Linked DNA regions of Homo sapiens: regions 1, 2, 4, 5 and 6 are each linked to region 3. Evidence: promoter capture Hi-C in 16 types of primary human blood cells and fetal thymus (Javierre and others, 2016). All regions are on one chromosome and are shown on one strand. The core of a region is centred on a gene start or on the middle of the fragment in contact, and the rest is flanking DNA. Distances in the headings are between cores, read along the strand shown.

Evidence for each region. The method cuts DNA at HindIII sites, captures the fragments that hold promoters and counts their contacts. A CHiCAGO score of 5 or more calls a contact.
Region 1: a fragment that was not itself captured here is called in contact with the fragment with the promoter of NUDCD1 in region 3 in 3 of 17 cell types (non-activated CD4 T cells, total CD4 T cells and naive CD4 T cells); the score reaches 19.6 in non-activated CD4 T cells.
Region 2: a fragment that was not itself captured here is called in contact with the fragment with the promoter of NUDCD1 in region 3 in 1 of 17 cell types (total CD4 T cells); the score reaches 7.9 in total CD4 T cells.
Region 4: the fragment with the promoter of RAD21-AS1 here is called in contact with the fragment with the promoter of NUDCD1 in region 3 in 6 of 17 cell types (naive CD8 T cells, naive CD4 T cells, non-activated CD4 T cells and 3 more); the score reaches 15.2 in naive CD8 T cells.
Region 5: the fragment with the promoter of MED30 here is called in contact with the fragment with the promoter of NUDCD1 in region 3 in 2 of 17 cell types (activated CD4 T cells and naive CD8 T cells); the score reaches 6.6 in activated CD4 T cells.
Region 6: the fragment with the promoter of SLC25A32 here is called in contact with the fragment with the promoter of NUDCD1 in region 3 in 2 of 17 cell types (non-activated CD4 T cells and total CD4 T cells); the score reaches 6.6 in non-activated CD4 T cells.

The regions. Positions count from the first base shown.
Region 1 is chr8:116,767,183-116,770,370 of GRCh38, reverse strand. UTP23 (UTP23 small subunit processome component) reads right to left here. Exons shown (of 3, transcript NM_032334.3): 2 at 5-179. Among named protein-coding and RNA genes, the nearest start is that of UTP23, 2.3 kb to the right of the region's middle. The HindIII fragment of the contact is 2,259 bases long and covers 597-2,855 here.
Region 2 is chr8:116,749,922-116,753,066 of GRCh38, reverse strand. All of the region lies in intron 1 of EIF3H (eukaryotic translation initiation factor 3 subunit H), which reads left to right. Among named protein-coding and RNA genes, the nearest start is that of EIF3H, 4.3 kb to the left of the region's middle. The HindIII fragment of the contact is 994 bases long and covers 1,298-2,291 here.
Region 3 is chr8:109,332,484-109,335,860 of GRCh38, reverse strand. NUDCD1 (NudC domain containing 1) reads left to right here and starts at 1,774. Exons shown (of 10, transcript NM_032869.4): 1 at 1,774-1,968. The coding sequence starts at 1,851. ENY2 (ENY2 transcription and export complex 2 subunit) reads right to left here and starts at 1,514. Exons shown (of 5, transcript NM_020189.6): 1 at 1,387-1,514. The coding sequence starts at 1,392. RefSeq lists enhancers at 1,233-1,482, 748-1,670, 1,853-1,902, 2,033-2,082. The HindIII fragment of the contact is 6,990 bases long and covers 1-3,054 here.
Region 4 is chr8:116,872,706-116,875,909 of GRCh38, reverse strand. It overlaps RAD21-AS1 (RAD21 antisense RNA 1), which reads right to left and starts at 1,486. Exons shown (of 2, transcript NR_033886.1): 1 at 925-1,486; 2 at 1-489. RAD21 (RAD21 cohesin complex component) reads left to right here and starts at 1,134. Exons shown (of 14, transcript NM_006265.3): 1 at 1,134-1,299. It overlaps MIR3610 (microRNA 3610), which reads left to right and starts at 1,110; the gene lies at 1,110-1,182. RefSeq lists an enhancer at 1,137-1,186 and silencers at 1,297-1,616, 1,777-1,826. The HindIII fragment of the contact is 5,133 bases long and covers 1-3,204 here.
Region 5 is chr8:117,519,463-117,522,655 of GRCh38, reverse strand. It overlaps MED30 (mediator complex subunit 30), which reads right to left and starts at 1,943. Exons shown (of 4, transcript NM_080651.4): 1 at 1,603-1,943. The coding sequence starts at 1,779. It overlaps LOC105375716 (a long non-coding RNA gene), which reads left to right and starts at 1,936. Exons shown (of 7, transcript XR_928569.3): 1 at 1,936-2,102. The HindIII fragment of the contact is 1,953 bases long and covers 349-2,301 here.
Region 6 is chr8:103,413,408-103,416,640 of GRCh38, reverse strand. SLC25A32 (solute carrier family 25 member 32) reads left to right here and starts at 1,534. Exons shown (of 7, transcript NM_030780.5): 1 at 1,534-1,857. The coding sequence starts at 1,704. It overlaps DCAF13 (DDB1 and CUL4 associated factor 13), which reads right to left and starts at 1,255. Exons shown (of 11, transcript NM_015420.7): 1 at 1,125-1,255. The coding sequence starts at 1,194. RefSeq lists enhancers at 1,174-1,513, 1,247-1,868. The HindIII fragment of the contact is 9,226 bases long and covers 1-3,233 here.

The DNA.
Region 1 (3,188 bases), core at 477-2,976, 7.4 Mb before region 3:
TCACCTGTGTTGCCACAAAATAATGATGAGGATTTCCCTCTTCAACCATGGAAAGCAGACATTCTGATCCACTCACTGCATTCTTGAAATGAGGACAATTTCGAACTTGGCATTTTTGTGCAATCAGTTTTGCCCCATATAAGTCCTTTCCCAATGTTTCTAGCTCTTTTAACACACATCTGAAAAGAAAAATTATAGCAGATACATTTCACTTGTTTACATAAGGTGTAAAAAACAATAGTCGATTTTTTCTTAAAATAAAACTATGCTGTTACAATCTAAATTTGTCATCTGGTAACCATTTACTTTAAAAGATCACTTGAAAAATGCATTTACCAAGTAGGAAGAACAACAGTTAAAATTAACTGAGCACTTATTATGTTCCATGTAGTATGCAAATTGCTCTTTACATAAATTCTTGATTAATCTCAAAGTAACCCTATGAAGTTAGGTCGCTTACCTTGAAATTATCCTTATTTTAGAGCACCCCATTCTGAGATTTCAAGTAACATGCCAAAGTTCAAGTAACTAGCAAGTGGTACCGAGACTTGCAGTTTGACAACAGCTCCCTTGTCCCAACCATAGCGTAATAAGCTTCTGCTTCAAGTACAAATTGGTATACTTTCAAAACATTTTCAATTCAGAACAGTAAAACTTCTCACATCATCAAGTTGTTTTTAAAAAAACATTTAGTCATAAGAGTTCCTCAACCCTAGCCAGCATTTGCCAGATTCTTTCTTGCTTCATCTCCTTTATCATCTTTCTGTTTCAAGAAGATTTTGCTTGCTTTAGTCATTAGACTTGACCTCTATTTTGAGTACTGCCAGCCTGTGGATGTCCTGCTATCAACTCTTCAAATTCACCATGTCTAAGATCAAACCACTTTCCTGTATCCAAATTTATCCTCCAAGACTTGCTATCTCTTTGAAATTACTATTTTCCCAGACACCCTAGATAGAAATCAGAAATCACATTTGACCTTCCTGCCCTTCTTCACCCATACTCCTATGCCATCAGCTGCTCAACCTATCTATCTCAGTAACGTAGCGTTTCTTTGGAGAACCCTTGGGTTCCTGCCTTTCCTCTCCCAGGTTTAGGCTCCCCTTACTTCTTGATTAAACAACCGCAAAACAGATTCATGCCTTTGCTCTCTTGTTTCTCCAATTTACCCTTCACATCACTGCAGTTATCTTTTCTAAAATAAAACCCAGGCCTGATAACATTCTGCTGTTCTACTTCATCAATTAACTCCACACATCTTCAAACCTGAATATCAGTAAACTCTGTAGAGACCTAACTACTAGTGGCCAAGAAATATATTCCACTGAAAAACGAATGACCTGATTTCTTAAAAACATAAATTGCAAAATTTAAAGGGAGGGGAAACTGCCAAAATTTTTAAAAACTGCCTGGCATGGTGGCTCATGCCTGTAATCCCCATGCTTTGGGGGCCGAGGTGGGTGGATCACCTGCGGTCAGGAGTTCAAGACGAGCCTGGTCAACGTGGTGAAACATTGTCTCTGCTAAAAAATACAAAAATTAGTAGGACGTGGTGTCACACATCTGTAATCTCAGCTACTTGGGAGGCTGATGTAGGGAAATCACTTGAACCCGGGAGGCGGAGGCTGCAGTGAGCCATGATCGCACCACTGCACTCCAGCCTGGGCAATAAAGTGAGACTCCATCTCAAAAATAAATTTTTTTAAAAAACTTAAGTGACATATAAATCAAATGTAATATATGTATTTAGTTTGAATACTGATTTTTAAAAGCCTTCTTTATCTTTTCAAGATACATGCCAAAGAAGTGATAAATAATATGCTCCAAAGCAACCCATCAGTAAGGAGAGGTGAGGGATTCAACAAGATTGGCCATGTTAATAACTGCAAAAGCTGGAGAGAGGTTTCATTATATTATTCTACCTTTGAGTTGTCTGAAAAATTCCAGAGTTAAAATAAATTTGTTAGAAAAATTGCTGTAGAATATAATTTTATGTGGCACTTCTCAACCTTTTTAATATCATAGCACTATATTTAAAATGTTAATATTTCTATGGCACACAGGAGTATATGGACAAATTGCTTGTAGACAAAAGCAATCAATTCAGGAGCAAAGACTACTGAAGGATTTGTTAGACAGCCCTAAAGACTAAGGGGATCAAAACTTTGGGGGTATCTGTAACCCAGCCGAGACCCTGCTTGAGAAATTCTGAACAAATACAGATAGCTGTTCATTAAGTAATCGTATGTGAGGAAAAGGAGACTATTAACACAGTATACACAGAAAAAGCCCATACTTTGTTATGGCTGTAGTTAGAGATGGGGGTTTCCTACGTTGCTCAGGCTCACCTCAAACTCCTAGACTCAGGCAACCCTCCTGTCTCAGCCTCCTGTGTAGCTACTAGGATTACAAGTGTGAGCCACCTTGCCTGGCTTAAAAGTCCATTCTTGTGCTTGTGTGAGTGTGTATAAAGAACTGGATGGATGACACTGCACATGTTAACAGTGATTATTCGTGAGTAGTGGTATTATGAGTCATTTTAATTTTCTTTTTTTGCTTTTTAAAAGTAAATATTCTACAATGAAAAAACTACTAAATTTCTTAATAGTTCTTCATGGCCTAGCCTCAATTTGCCTTCTTCCTAGTTTCACTCCCAAATATATTCTGTGCTGCAACCTCTTTCCCAGGCATTTCATAACTCCATTTCGTGTGAAGAGGTCTCCACAACAAGAAGTGTCATTCTTTTCTGTCATTCAAAATAGTTCTTCCTCTCAGAACTGAACAAGTGAATGGGCTCAAATGTTATCTGAAATCTGTCACAATTCTCTCCTCTCTCCTCTTCATCCCGACAAGCTTCCATCCTAAGTGTTCCCACATTTCAATGAAGTGGGGAAACATCAGACCTAGAGTGAAAACACACACTGCAGACTGACTTATGCACTTTACTGGCCATGAGGGAGCAGTATGTGGCATATAGGAGGTACTTAATAAAGCGAGTTGAATAAACAAATGTGCTTGGGCAGATTCCTTAATCTCAAGTACTGACTTTTTGCCCTGGACATCAAAGATGGTAACTCACAGGTTCACTGTGAGGCTTGCAGAGTTTTGGTTTAAACTAAGAAAAGCTATGCAAATGACAGCAACCATTTGAAGACGGGTACACTTTGGATACCGAAAAATGCTCTAGT
Region 2 (3,145 bases), core at 545-3,044, 7.4 Mb before region 3:
CATTTAAATGGTATGTTCTTTATGCGTTTTACATTGTTAATACAGGGAATACTGGTTACTCTAAATTTTATTAATGGATTATTGCAGATGGAGTAACCAAGAATCATCCATCTTGAATACTATCTCCACATGGATGATAGGTATACCCACGTTTGCCCAGATACAATTTAAAAAAAACTCCTTCCTTAAACTCTTCTCTTCTCTCTCTCTTTTTTCTTTTCTTTTCTCTCTCTCTTTCCTTCCTTCCTTCCTTCCTTCCTTCCTTCCTTCCCTCCCTCCCTCCCTCCCTCCCTCCCTCCCTCCCTCCCTCCCTCTTTCTTTCTTTCTTTCTCTTCTTTCTTTCTTTCTTTCTTTCTTTCTTTCTTTCTTTCTTTCTTTCTTTCTTTCTTTCTTTCTTTCTTCATTTCTGTCTTGATGAACAGTGTTACTCTTAGGAAAGCAATATTACATACTAGCCAAGAGAATCTTGACGACAGACTTGGATTCAGATCCTTATTCCAGCAGTAAGCATGACCTTGGGGAAGTTATTAAATTTTCTAGGCCTCAGGTGTATCCTTTGTAAAATGGGGATGATGATAAAGTAGTAACTCATAAGGGTTGTGAGAATGAAATTCCGAGGTATTTAAAGTGTTTAGTATAGTACCTGTGTCATCGTAAACACTCAGATTACTGTGTCTTTACCACTCTCATCCTTATTAATGTTTCTCAAATCATTTCGAATGCTAACTTTGCTAATGTAGATTGGAATTGTAGAAAGAGCACTTCAGTGCTCCTGGTAATCAGGAGACATGCATTCCAGTCTGCATCCACCAGTAACTAACAACACTTCTATGATTGTTTTACTCCAAAGGTACATTTTCTCATCCACAAAATGATTGCCACTATCCCTATCAATTTTCATGGTTTATGGTTTCTTTCTTTTGCTTTCATACCTGAATCCTGAGGGTTCTTATTGGTGTGTGACCCCAGTCAATCACTATCCTTCCTTTTAGGCCACTTACTCCTTTCCTTTTATGTTTCTTCTCCATCTGTGCATATTGGAGTGCCTCATGGTTTAGGTTTTGGCTTTTCTTTTAGTCTCTGCTTGACATAGGTAGTGTAACGAAGTTGATAAAAGTACATGCTCTGGAGCCAGACTGCTTGGATTTGAATCCCAGCTCTGAAATTTGCTGCATGACATTGGGCAAGTCTTTGTGCCTCATTTTCCTCATCTGAATTGTTTTGAGACTTTAAATGGATTGAATATATGTCAATAACTAGAACAATGTCTGGGACAGAATAAGTCACCATTTAAGCTTTGCTGCTGCTTTATTTGCAGTAATTATAGTAGTATTCTTTAAGGTATTCTTATCTGTGCTCACGGCTTTAAATATTTATATTCTAATAAGTCCTAGATTTATATTTCTGCCAGTAATGGCTCTTGAATGCCTCTTTTGAATACCCATTGCCTGTTTGACGTCACTATTTGGATATCTCATAGGCATCTCATATTTAACATGTACAAAATAGAATTATAGACTTGTTCTTCTCCTTACTTTCCATCACAGCACCCTATATTTCTAGAATTTTCCACAGCCTGTAACTATCTTGTTTGTTTTCTTCTTTGTTTTCCTCATCAGAATGTATGCTACTGAGGGCAGGGACTATGCTTTTTCACCTGTTTTATCTCCAGTGCTGAACCTGTTAATTCACAAAGTAGGATAAATGAATGAGTATGTATTCCATTTTATTATTTATACTAATTTATGTTCTAATATCTTATGCAGGTTATTTTAATATTGTTTTCCCCTGCCTTCTTCAGTCTACCATTCATACTTTTATTTTATTTTATTTTATTTTATTTTATTTTTTTTTTGAGACGGAGTCTCGCTCTGTCGCCCAGGCTGGAGTGCAGTGGCGCAATCTCGGCTCACTGCAAGCTCCGCCTCCCGGGTTCACGCCATTCTCCTGCCTCAGCCTCCCAAGTAGCTGGGACTACAGGCGCCTGCCACTACGCCCGGCTAATTTTTTGTATTTTTAGTAGAGACGGGGTTTCACCGTTTTAGCCGGGATGGTCTCGATCTCCTGACCTCGTGATCCGCCCGCCTCGGCCTCCCAAAGTGCTGGGATTACAGGCGTGAGCCACCGTGCCCGGCCTCATACTTTTATTAAAACGTTTATTTAACGTGAACATTCAGATTTTAACTTCTTTCCTTAGATGTTTTCAGTGACTTTCCATTGAATTGAAGGACCAAAATGTTGTCCTTGTTTCTTGCATTTATGTTCAGGTTTATTTCCTTTCTTTCCAAGCTTTGTAGGAACTGTACATTCCAGCCCCTCAGACTACTTAGTTTTTTCTTTAATAAGTCATGCTAAAGGCCAGGTGTGGTGGCTCACGCCTGTAATCCCAGCACTTTGGGAGGCCAAGGCAGGCAGATCACACGAGGTCAGGAGATCAAGACCGTCCTGGCTAACATGGTGAAACCCTGTCTCTACTAAAAATACAAAAAATTAGTCGGGCGTGGTGGCGGGTGCCTGTAGTCCCAGCTACTCAGGAGGCTGAGGCAGGGGAATGGCATGAACCGGGGAGGCGGAGCTTGCAGTGAGCCGAGATTGCACCACTGCACTCCAGATTGGGCGACAGAGCGAGACTCCGTCTCAGAAAAAAAAAAAAAAAAAAAAAAGTCATGCTAAAGACAGACCTAGAGTCACATCCTTATTCAAAGCAGTAAGCATGACCTTGCTTTTGTTCATGAAGTTCTTTCTCTTTGAAATTGTTCTCTTTCATCATCACATATTGAATAAAAAATGTGACTTAATCGACTTACTCTGTTTTTTTAAAAATTCTCCATATAGTTTAACTTGAATCTGTATACTCCAGATGTATTCTGTTCTTCATTCATTTAACAAATATTTATTGATTGCCGACCACATGCCAGGTCTAGCCCTGCTACATGCTGGGGTATATTGCAGTAACCTATATAAGATATTATATAGGTGAGCAAGGTAGAACCCAGTCCCGACTCTCATGACCATTCTCAGTCATATATAGATGTAGATGAACCCAGAGATTAATCTCATCCTATGTTTAGCCTGATGTTTTAACACATTTGTTCCTTCCTGGCACATTGATAGTGGCCAAGACCAATTTTTCTTGTATTTTTGA
Region 3 (3,377 bases), core at 525-3,024:
TACTGATGAGGAAACTGAGGCACAGAGATAGAAAGTGGAAAGGCAAAATTTGAACTCAAGTACTTTGACCCTAGGAGCTCCAAAACTGAACATAACTGCCGATCACTTCTGCAGAGACTGCATCCAAAAATTGGGAGAAGTCATACATACTAAACATCAAAAAAAGATTAAATACTATTAGTAAAAAAATAAAATTACCAGGCCGGGCACAGTGGGTCACACCTGTAATCCCAGCACTTTGGGAGGCCCAGGCAGGTGGATCACGAGGTCAGGAGTTCAAGACCAGCCTGACCAAGATGGTGAAACCCCGTCTCTACTAAAAATAGAAAAATAAGCTGGGCTTGGTGGCAGGTGTCTGTAATCCCAGCTACTCAGGAGGCTGAGGCAGGAGAATCGCTTGAACCCAGGAGACAGAGGTTGCAGTGAGCCGACATTGCGCTGCTGCACTCCAGCCTGGGTGACAGGGCAAGACTCTGTCTCAAAAAAAAAAAAAAAAATTAATTAATCAAAAAAAATAAAATTACTAGATAAGGCTCTAAGTGTTTTGCTTTACTCTTCACTAGGATGAACCCACAATTACAACTGCTAAACCTAAGTGTGTGGATGTGTGTGTTTACACACACACTGCTGGTGGGATAAGAAGAAAACAAATCTCAAACTAATTCCTAACTTACAAAGTCCTCAATTGTCAGTAAAAACAGACAACCCAAACCAAAATGATGTTGAAAGAAGAGGAAAGTTAGGTTTTGAAAGCGTTAAAGCCACTTAAAAGTTTAAATTAAATAAAACTTGGCGTAAACTAACGTTTTCCCACCTAATCTGTCACTAACTTGAGATTACTTTTGTTGTCTTCCATCTGGCCTATTGAAAATTCAGACTGGCAATGAGTTACCAGAGTTGATTTTTTTTTTCTTTTTTGAGAGGAACAGGGAAAAGGAGAAGTTGAGTGAGAACTAGGAAATGCTTGCTTTTGTAATTGGAGGCTAACATTTTCAAAATAACTACAAGGTCTAGTCAGTACCACTCCTGGAATATTGAACTTGATCTCGTCTTGGCTCCTAAAATACGGATAGTGACCTTGGACAAGTCACTTAATTCTTAAAGGCCTCAGTTTTCTCACTGGTAAAACAAGGGCGCTAGGGTATCCCTCCCAGTTCAGACATTCTTAGGGAAAATAGAACAGGGCGGAGACAGCGGGAGAGGCGGGAGAGGAGGAGCCAGAAAACAAAGCGAGGACTGGTTTCAGGCCAACTCCGGTAGCACGCCCTGTCGGAGAGCCCTACAGGCCCGCGAGCGCGGGTCGGGGACGCTAACGAAAGACAGTACATCGAAAGGAGCCTGGGCTGGGCCCGGGTCCCGGCCCTGAGGACCACGGGCATAGCTCACCACCATCACCGCGGGCGAGGGCCGTCCCTTCCCAGCGACGAAATGACCCTTGCGCTGAGGACCGTTACCTACCACACTCTTCGGCTGCCCGGACTTAGACCCTCAGTAGCTCGGGCACCTAAGCACACAGAAAGCTAGAACACGCATTTCCGGGGCGGGGTCTCGCCACCCTGCCTATAATGTGAGAATTTAACCAGCGCGGGCCGCCTCCTGGTTGCTAGGGCCTCTGGGTAACAGAGTTCAGACCTTGCCGTCGCGCGCGCGTTAAGTACCAGGAGAACTACATAGCCCAGCATGCAACAGTCTCAACTTTTTCACGGACACTACATTTCCCAGAAGGCAGTTCGCACCGCAGTGTTTTCTGGGATGGGAACCACGCCGCTTCCCAGTCTCTGTGCGAGGCGTGAAGCGCGGACCTTTCAACAAGGGCTTTATTAATTCTCACGCTGCGGCCCTGGAAAGCGATGGAGGTGGCGGCTAATTGCTCCCTACGGGTGAAGAGACCTCTGTTGGATCCCCGCTTCGAGGGTTACAAGCTCTCTCTTGAGCCGCTGCCTTGTTACCAGCTGGAGCTTGACGCAGGTGGGAAGCGGCGGCGCCCTTCGTACTCCGTTCCTTTCCCCTTTCGGCTGCCTCCGGCCTGACCCTTCCCGCAATTTCTTTCTTTCTGACTGGCAAGCGAAGCCACCGTGGCGGCTTGCGTGGACTCACGGAGGCCGCTGCTTCTGGGGAATGATGCCCATCCCAGAACCCGGTGGGAGCCGCCTTCGCGCGCTCTTCGGTAACGGGACCCTGGGCCCCCTCCGTCAGCAGCCCAGCCTCTGAGGTCTGAGGTCTGAGGGCTGGCGTGCGGGTAGTGCCTGGGGCTCTGGCTGCTGTGTGTCCACAGCCTGGCTTCTGTTTCGGGGGACGCTGAGAACATTCCTTCCTCCTGGAGCATCGCTTGTGAACGTGTGCGTTGAGAAACCACACCTCCTTGGAGGACCCCCAGTTCCTGTTTCCTCTGACCGAGAGCCGTTTCTTAGAAGAGAAACTACATTCCAGTCATAGCATTTTTAATTACTCAGTTCCTGGCACATTAAGAACTCTGGTAGAGAACATCTCTAGAAGATAGTGAGGAAAAGTGGATTTACTCCCACACTGCTACTCCTTGCTTTATCTGTAGCTGGTAGAATATCCTTACTCTTGTTTTTACAACTTAACGGCATTTTCGTTATGATAGAGCCCAGAGATCTGCATTTTAAAATTCACACCCCTGCTGATTCTGATGCATGTTTTCAGAGATCACACTTTGAGAAATAGTGATCTACAGTTAATTATAATAACAGACATTAAAGTATAAAATAAGTTTATGCTAATTGATTTATTAAATTCAGAAATATTTACCGAGTACCTGTTTTGTGTTACGTCCTGATAATATCAAAATGAACAAGACACCTTCCGTAACAAAAGAGGACTATTAGCTAGTTAGGAAGAAAATTGTAAACAGATAATTGTAAAACAATATGGGAAGGCAGTGATAGGGATATGTACAAAATACAATGGTAGTACTTGAATATCTTTCCTAAACTAGTCTGGGGATCTGGGAAGGCGTCTTGGAGGAGTTAATATCTAAGTTGAGCTTTGAAGGGTAGGTTAAGAGTTGACTAGGATGAGAGAGGATAAGCTTGATTTTTCTTTTTATTTTTTTCCTTTTCCTCTTTGCCACCGTGTTTCTTCCAGTCACCCCATGTCAGTAGATGGTATCACCATGTTTAGTTAGTGCATTAGAAAGTGAAGCCAAAATTCAGTGTCTCAAAACAAGAAGCAGTTATTATTGCTCACAAGTCTACGGGTCAGCTGAGTGGTTCTTCTAGTCCTAGTTGGGCTCATTGATGCATCCTTGTTCAGTAATGGATCTGCTGGGAAGCTCTGCTCATTTGGCTGGACTTCCTCATATGTTTGGAGGGTGGGGGTAGGGTCTCAGACTATAAGCTTGTTTAAGATTCTTT
Region 4 (3,204 bases), core at 237-2,736, 7.5 Mb before region 3:
ATTCTTCTACATATAGTTATCTAGTTTTTCCAGAACAATTTTTGGAAGAGACCATCCTTTTCCCAACGTATGTTCTTGGCAGCTTTGTCAGAAATTAGTTGACTGTATATGTATTGATTTATTTATAGGTCCTCTATTCTGTTCCGTTAGTCTATGTGTCTGTTTTTATGCCAGCACCATGCTGTTTTGTTTACTATCACTTTGTAGTATAATTTGAAGTCAGGTAATGTGATGCCTCCAGCTTTATTCTTTTGCTCAGGATTGCTTTGGCTATTCTTGGTCTTATTGTGGTTCCATATAAATTTTAGGATTTTTTTCCTCTTTCTGTGAAGAATGTCATTGATATTTTGATAGGGATTACATTGAATCTGTAGATTGCTCTGGGTAGTATGGAAATTTTAACAATATTGATTCTTCCAATCCATGAACATGGAATATATTTCCATTTTTGTGTGTCCTCTTCAATTTCTTTCATCACTGGAAAGATCTCTACAATAAAAACAAAAGTAAATTTCTTCGTGGTACAAGTAAGTCTTTTAAGATAAGAAATTTTAAGATTCCTCCCAAGCAATACTGAAAATTTCCAAAAGGCAGTTATTATCTCTGTTATATTAATCATTATATCCAGAGCCCAACGTGTAGCAAACAGAAGACCCTCTATAATATAGGTTGACTGAATAAATGAACCTCTATATTTTATGGAATTAGTTTGAGGTTTTTATGTTACTTTCATCCCTATAGAGCCATAAAATGAATTTTTTGGTGGGGGCACACAAAATTGCACCACGACAGCTTTTTTCTTTAAAACAAGCACAAGAATAAAGCTAAACGCAAATATTCACCGCACTGGAAAGCACTGCGCGTGCGCTATCTTACGCTATTGGCTAACACCGCAACTCTCAAAGACCCTCGCAAGAGAATCACCTTTGCGCTTGCTCAGTTGTGGACTCCACAAACAGAGGGCGGGTTCCAAAGAAAAGGAAATAGTCATTGCGCCTGCGCCGCTCCTTCTGGGGGGAGGGGGGGGCTTGGGCTGGCTGCGCAGGCGCACAGGTACCATTTTGACCGTAAACATCCTGCCGATTTGAACCGAGGATTTGGGCGGCAGGAAGAGCCGCGGCGTAACGGCAGCCATCTTGTTTGTTTGAGTGAATCGGAAAGGAGGCGCCGGCTGTGGCGGCGGCGGGAGCTGCTCGGAAGCTACACCTCGCAAGGGCTCCCCCCTTTCCCCACCCCCTCCCCCGACCCTTTTCCCCTCCCCGGGCCACCCAGCCCGCCCAACTCCCAGCGGAGAGCAAGGTAAGAGACTCGGCCGACCCCTTCTTTTCCTCCAGCTCCCTCCCCCCACCCTTTCCCCGCCGCTCTGCCGTCGGGGAGCCGGACTCCTGGGGGCGGGAGGGCGAGGGAGAAGGCAGCCCTCGCCGCGCCCACGCGTGCTGCCACCCTCCCGGCGCCCAAGCGGCGGCGCCACCCGCCCAGCCCCCTTCGCCCCGGGCCCGCCCTCGGCCCGGACCCATGCAGCTTGGGCCCGCATCATCGCTTGTTCGGTAACAAATGATTCTGATCCATTCTGAGATCTACAAAGGCTGTTACCCTGCAGGTCCATCTCACGTCCCCCAGGAGGCCGGGGAAACCCTGGGCTGCGGAGGGAGGGGAGGAGGTTTGAACGAGCCCGCTCTGGGGACCGGGCCGCCTACTCCGCGGGTAAAAATGGCTGTCTGGGAGGAGGCGGTGGCGGGCCCGGCGCCCGCGGTGCCAGCCCCGGGAGCAGCAACCTTCCGCCGAACTCGGGTGCGGGGCTCAAGAAAGTGCGGAGCTGGTGGGGCTGGGCGGGGTGGGGCGGGGGGTCGGCGGGTGCCCCTCGGCCAGTGACTGCTGCTGCCCTCCCGTTTTAAAAAGATAATTTTTACGTTGGGAATGCTGAATATTTCACAGACGCGTGGAAAAAGAGACGGAGGGAAGTTGCTTCTTTTTCCAAGGATATTTGCATAATTGGTTTTCCCCTGAACTTTTCTGATCATTCTTTAAAGTGATTAAGGATATCGGGTGTTGTAGAGACGCTCTGGGGGAGGTGTGTGTTTCTGATAAATGCTTGATGCCCTTTTCGTCGCTGAAAAAGGCTTTTTGCGAATGATCCGCTTTGATAGTGTGGGGTGACACTGTCGGGTTGTGCTGCCAGACTTAGCGGCCTTCTTCAAATTTGTAAGAGGGAAACCCTGGGGGATTTACTTGGTCACTCTGATTTGTTAGTGTCTTCAGCGTGAAAAAAAAAACAGCGTTTGTGCGAAGAGTTTCTGGGAAAGGCTTGTGTTTATCGGCTTCTTTTTGCAAGGGAAAGTTAATCTTTGTTGTCATTATACTGGTTAGAAGAGTAATTGGTTTTCAGGCAAAAATTTCTATTTTCTTAAATTGGGTGTAAATGCCAGCGGGCAGTGCGAGTCTATAGAATTTTGGAGACAGGCAGGAGAAGGTTTCTCAAATCGTGAAGTCATTAAATACCTTTGTTAATGTCGGAGGCAACTAATTATTTTTGGAAAGGCATTGATGAGGACATACGCCATATCTGATCTTCAAATAAGTTAACAGTTTGTATAGTTGAGGTGACAGCAGTGCATAACTAATAGACATAGTGCTTTTTTTTATACACAAGTCAGAATTACAAAAGAATTTCTGGTGAATTATTTTGTGAAACATACAAATTCTAAGAAACGCTTTTACAGTTTGGTACAGAATGGAAATTTTCTAATTCTTGAGAAATAAGGTTGTGTTTTTAGTTTAAATGTCAAACCAGAGTTGTTAGGCATGATTATACTGGCTGGTTAATGTTTTGCTGCAAGATTGTCTTCAGAGTTACTTTTCGCATCAGCAGTGGCACTATGTTAGGTGTGCCCTTGTATTTAATTTTCATAATCTTTTTTGATGAATATTATCCCAGTTTATAGTTGAGAAGTAACTTATTCACCGTTACAAAACAACTGAGCAAAGAGGGAGCTTAATTTGAACCTACGACTGTCTGATTGTAAAACTCTTGGTCAAAGGATGTTAGAACCAAAACAGAGGAGATTTCTAGTGTGCAGGGTTAGAAATATCTTCAGAGATCCTTCCCCCTACTCCCCTGAAGAGGTAGCTCCGTTCTGATCTGAGTTAGGTATTGACGTTTTCAAAGGTTAGGTAAACCACCAGATTTCAACCTTTCAGGTTTTC
Region 5 (3,193 bases), core at 694-3,193, 8.2 Mb before region 3:
ACCAGTTAAAAAAAAAAAAAGCAATAAAACACTTTTTTGGACACCCACAGAAATAAGAGCTGTAAGATTTTTGAAAACTTGGTTTCAAATTTACCCTACCACTGACTAGGTTTGGGCAAGTCACTTTATCTCTCTGAAGTACAGAATCTTCATCTGTAAAACAAAAATAATATCTACTACATGTAGTGGGTAATATAAGCAAGCATTAAAAATGGGTCAGCAAAATGGTGCTGGAACAACTGGATATCCAAATGCAAAACAATGAACTTGGATCCGTATCTGCCACTATGTATACATATTTAAAAACTCACAAAACTAAATATAGGTTGTAGACCTAAATATAAAGCTTGAAAGTACAAAACTTCTAGAAGAAAACAGAAACCCTTTGTCACCTTGGGTTAGGCAAAGATTTCTTAGGTATGACAGCAAAACCAAAATCTATAAAAGAACAAATCAGTAAGCTGGATTCCATCAAAATTTAAAATGTCTGTTCTTCAAAAGACAGTATTAAGAGAATAAAAAGGCAGGATAGACTGGGAGAAGTATTTGGAAAGCATCAAGACATAACAGGTGTTGATGAGGATGAGGAGAAACTAGAACCCTCAAACAGCAATGTTTACATTCCCACTAGCAATAATCGGGACGTAAAATGGCTCAGGCCACTTTGGAAAAGTTTCTTAAAGTATTAAACAGACATGTACTGCATGATCCAGCAATTCCACTCCTGAATCTGTCCAAGAGAAATGACACATACGTTCACACAAAAATTTGTCAGCAAAAGTTCATAGCAGCATTATTTACAACAGCCAAAAAGTGGAAACAACCCAAATGTCCATCAACAGAAGAAAAGGTAGGCAAATGGTGATACATGGATACAATGGAACATTACTCAGCAATAAAAAGGAAATTATTGATGCATTCTTAGTGAAGGATCTCAGACAAAAAAAAAAGCCCACATACTGTAGACTCCGTTTATATAAAACCCTAGCAAATGCAAATTAATTTATGATTACAGAACGCAGATCAATGGTTGCTTAGCGATGGAAGGTGGGAAGCAAAGATGTCAGAGGGGTATGAAGAAACTTTCTGGGATGATGTGTACACTATTTTGATTGTGGTGATAATTTCACAAGTATACAGACTACAGTACACATATATATCAAAACTTTAGGTGAGTGTAGTTTACTGTATATTAACTATGCCAAAAAAAGGAGGACTGTTTTTTTAAAAAAAATGTAAATTCTTCAACTCCTTGGACCTCCCCAGAAGAAATGCTGGAAAAAACATTTAAAGCAACCTAAAGAGGGAAGTGGAGTGCGACCCATCTCTGCCTTGAAAGGTGCAAGAGTTTACAGAGTAACTAAAGAGCTCGATTGAATCTAAAAAAAATTGGCTTCAATTCTGCAGAAATCTGGTCTGGAAAACATCACCTCTACAAATCCGACTTTTGGGGACACTCTTGAGTGTGAATGGGGGAGACCCTACACCTAAGGTTTGCCCAGGGCAGCCCCGATGACATCCACGGGCCCCACGTAAAGAGGAAACCAGAGGCCCTTTCCCTCCCAGCTGCATCCCCCTGGCCTCGCGCGCCCGCCTTCCTACCTGCATGTTCCTCAGGAGCTGGAAGATCTCCATGGTGCGGTACACGATGTCCTGCACTGTCTCCTGCCCGATGCGGCACAGCGACGCCGTGTTGACTTCCCGGGCGGCCTGCTGAGCCTGGGGCCCGGCGAAGGGCCCGGGCGCCATCCCCGACGCGGCCAACGGAGGGGTGGACATGGCGCGGCTGCAGCTTCAGGCCGGAAGGGGCCAGACAGCAGGTGTCAGGGGTCTGCCCGGAATTGGGAGGCTGTGGGGCCTCAGCGTTGGAACCAGCTTGAGAGACCCCCCGCGGCCCGATTTCAAAACAGCGGCCGCGACTTCCGCCCACTGTGACGTAACACGTCAGAAAACGTCATAGACACCGCCCACTCGGCGAACTGTCTCCGAGCGGAGCCGGGCTGGATTGGATTGGACCCCTGGGCGGGAAAGGACGGACGGGTTAAGTAGCCAATCACCAATTGCGCTCCAGCCAGAGGGGCGATGTTCTTGGGGAGCCTGGGGTGAGTTCCCAGAGTTCGTTTCCCAGTCTTGGCTCAGCGTTAGAACCTTCTGTGTTTAGTTCCTTGCGGAGCATTTTCTCTTAACAAGCCTGAGGTTTGTAGTATAACAGCTAAGAGACAGGTTAAAGTACTTGTTGAGTCGCATACAGGTGTAACTGGCAACCTGCGATTCGAATTCAGAAAACAAGATTCCTAAGCTTGTACGCTTCTCTGTGACATGATACGGACTCCCCGATTGCTCTTGGTCCCTGCTCAGATGTTTTATTCTTTGAGTTTTCCCAGTATCTGTAAGCAAAAAAAATGATCAACACACACACTTCTTTCTGACTCTGGCTCTTATTAGTGTCTGATTTTTTTTTCTTTTTCTTTTTGAGATGGAGTCTCGCTCTGTCACCCAGGCTGGAGTGCAGTGGCGCGACCTCGGCTCACTGCAAGCTCCGCCTCCCGGGTTCACACCATTCTCCAGCCTCGGCCTCCCGAGTAGCTGGGACTACAGGCGCCCGCCACCACGCCCGACAAATTTTTTGTATTTTTAGTAGAGACGGGGTTTCACCGTGTTAGCCGGGATGGTCTCGATCTCCTGACCTCGTGATCCGCCCGCCTCGGCCTCCCAAAGTGCTGGGATTACAGGCATAAGCCACCGCGCCCGGCCTACTGTCTGATATTTTATATAGCTTTCAGTTTGTTTACTTTCAGACTTTATCTCACCCTATCTACACACACTGCCAACTCCATGAAAACAGACTATTTTATTCACTTATTCTCAACACCTAGTGATTGGCACAAGTATCAATAAATACTTATTGAATGATTGTTGAGTGACATGATAAATGCAAGAGAAATTAAAATGTCTCTCACAATGTCTCTCACTTACTGTTCATCTCCAAAGTGGGGAAAAGTGAAGAATGTAAAATTAGTGATAGGCACAAACATTGCATTTTTTAGAAGTATCTGAATGCTCCATTGTACGGACTTTCCAGGAAATAGTTACTAAATATGTCATAGGAACCCTGGTAGAGATTTTAAACATAGTAATTCGCAGGTCTTCGGTAATTACCATTCGACAAATATTGGCTGAGCACCTATTATGT
Region 6 (3,233 bases), core at 285-2,784, 5.9 Mb after region 3:
ATCACAGAAGACGGGTGCTGAAGGGGGCGGGGCTCATGCAGGAGGTAAGCAGGAACAGATTACTGTTCGGTGAAAGTCTTCCAGAGAAAGCGGCTAAACTGGGTAAGGGTGTGTGCCACAGGAGGCCTTAAAAAAGATGACTGAAACGCACTGAGATTTGCAAGGGTGAATACTAAACCACTTGTGGGAAACGTAGTGACTGACTAAAGTGGCAAGGAAGGTGGGACCAGAGATTCAAGGACTGGGAACGATGCCAAATCCAAGTGACAAATCTAATTTATATTTTAGAAACATTACTGCCTTGTGACAAACTGTAAACATCTTTTGAGCAGAGACTTATTAGCAATGCTCACACACATGTTGATAATATCTCCTACTCAACCAAAATAGTGAAATACTGTTTTCGCCTCATCTCATCTCGCTTACTCCTCATTCAAACTAATGACACAGCCCTTCTTTCTATGCCTTAGGTTCATTCCTGCCTGAAGACCTTTGCTCCTGTTATTCTCTTTATTTAGAACAATCTGCTTACGCATGGTTGGTCCCTTGTCATTTAGGTATCACAAAGTACAATTTATAAGTGGTTAGCATGTTAACGGGGGAACAGACCAGGAAGGATAAATTAATTTCATTTAACCATTCTTTCATCAAACTTCTTAAGGGATGGTAAGAGAAAACTGATGCTTTTAAATTCATCTTTGTCTCTTCCAACATCCACAACTAATGTGAAGTAGTAAAGCGGCAAGAAGAGCAGTAGGAAGGTTTTAAAAGCCTGTTTAACTCTCAGCCCTTCAACCCACGAGTTTGGCTCATTCAAGTCCACTTTTCAGTAATAGGAACCTGAAGACAATCCCAGAGCAGCAGCTGGAATTTTTCTCCACTATAGACAACTGTTTCCCACTCACCACTAGAGGAAATTCTTAGAAAAAGGACTTGAACAGACTTTACTTGCTATCCATCCAGTTCCGCAGCGACTCCGTAAGCACAAAGTTTGCCTTAGCGAAAGGTAACTGAGAAAGAACCAGACCAGAGTGCCAGCCTCCCCCGGCTTTACTCCGCGAAAGCCGAGGCTAGACCCAACGACTTGCGGAAACCGTCCCTTTCTCCCTACCAACTTATCTTACCTCTCTGTAAGTCCAACTTGGTTTCGCGGACATAATTGTCCGGATTCCGGCTCAGCATCTTCACCTTCATCTCGGTTGCTCTTCCGGCCGGACTCCACGAGGTGTCCGCTAGGAGTTCCGCCCACCGCCACCTCCTCCCACAGGCGACTTCCGCTTTTCCCAGACTACTTCCAGTCACGTGACTCGCGGAGCGGCGGCCTGCTGGCTCAACTGGATCCTGCGCCGCTCCGTAGTTTTGCCGGCAAACGTTAGCAAGGGGCGGTTCTTTAGCTGTGCAGTCGCTTCCGCGTCCGTGGGCTGGAGCATTTGTGGGCGAGGCAGGGCGGAGACTCGGGAGAGGCTGGGACCTCCCCTCCATCGCGCTTTCCGCCGGCGTGACGTAGTGTCTGTGCCCCGTTCTTGCCCCCTCAGTACTAGAGTCTCCGGCTTCGCTCACGCGCCTTGGGCATAAGAGTCCTCTCGTTGGTCCCGGAGGTGGGGTTGCGCTCACAAGGGGCGACCGTCGCCACGGTGGCGGCCACTGCATCGCGTCCCACCTCCGCGGCCCTGGGCGCCGTGGTGTCGACGGGCCCCGAGCCTATGACGGGCCAGGGCCAGTCGGCGTCCGGGTCGTCGGCGTGGAGCACGGTATTCCGCCACGTCCGGTATGAGAACCTGATAGCGGGCGTGAGCGGCGGCGTCTTATCCAACCTTGCGCTGCATCCGCTCGACCTCGTGAAGATCCGCTTCGCCGGTAAGAGCCCGCCCAGACACCGGGCTGCATCCTCTCACTGTCAGCCCGAACTGGATCTCCTCCGTCTTTTCCGTTCTAGGGGGAGGAGGAGCGTTGAAGGGAGCGTTGCTGTCCGCGTTGGCTAACCTGAACTAGATTTGAGGAAATGGTGCTTGGTGGAGGGGTCGGCCTGCGATCTTCCCCGCTCCTCAAGACTAAGAGAGGGGGCATGTATGTAGAGAAGTCTGAGAAAAAACATCCTCATTGGCAGAGAAGATGGGATTCAAAGCCTGATTTGTAAAATAAAGAAGGGATTGTCACATTTTAAGGTTTAGTCCTCACACGTGCAAATCATTCACTCTTGGAGGAACTTTGAAATCTTAGCATACCCACGTGGTTTGGCAGCTCGACTAGTATTGGGATAGGGCGTAATCTTCAGCGAATGGTTGGGAGTAGATTTAGAATAGAATTCTCTTGAATGTTTGTTTTTTGGCATTTGTAGAATGGTACAAGTTTCTGTGAAAAAATAGCTAGAATCGAAATACTATTTTAAGTGTATTAGATGAATTGAGTATGTTGAAATTAACAAAGCATTTTAGAAGTTAAACTCAACACTAAAGTCTGGAAAGAGTTTCAAAGATGATCTTTGATAACTGAAATTGCAGAAAATAGTTTCCAAATAAAGTTATTACAAGTTAAGTTCAGCCTTGAGAATTAAATCTACAGAAGTTGTTTATTTTAGCATTAGGCAATTCAGTTCACTTGATTTATATTCTCTTAATATTTGTAGACTGCTGTATGGGCTACAGAAGTATCTAATAAAGTTCTTGCCTTCAGGGAACTTAGAATTTAATTGTAGGCGTTAGACTTAGTCATATAAAAGGTAATTCTAGACAACATAAAATCAAGAAATACAAAAACAAAATATAAATACAGGTAAACCGTTAAGAAAATTCTACATTACTGATGGCCATGTGTATCTTTAAGGTTCAGTGGAAGATTGGGGCTTGGGGTTTCCCATAGAAGGGCTAATATTTTGACAGCTGGAGAGGAAGCAAGAACCCGTTCTATGAAGGAAAATCATCGAAAATTATGGAGTATTATCTCTAGAAAAAACACCACAAAGACATATAATGTCATGAAGTTTTATGATGCATGCACAAATAATTATGTTATTGACAAGTAATCTTTATCGAGTATTTACTAGGAGCAAGGCAGTGAACTATGCTTTAGATGCATTATCTCATTTATTATCCTGTAAATCTATTCACAGGAACAATCCTGTGAGTTTATGATATCTGCTATACAGATGAGGATAACAGAAGTTGACTAACTTGCCCAAGTCACAAGTTTGTAAAGATGGATCTGGGATTTAAACCCAGGTAATCTAACTCTGG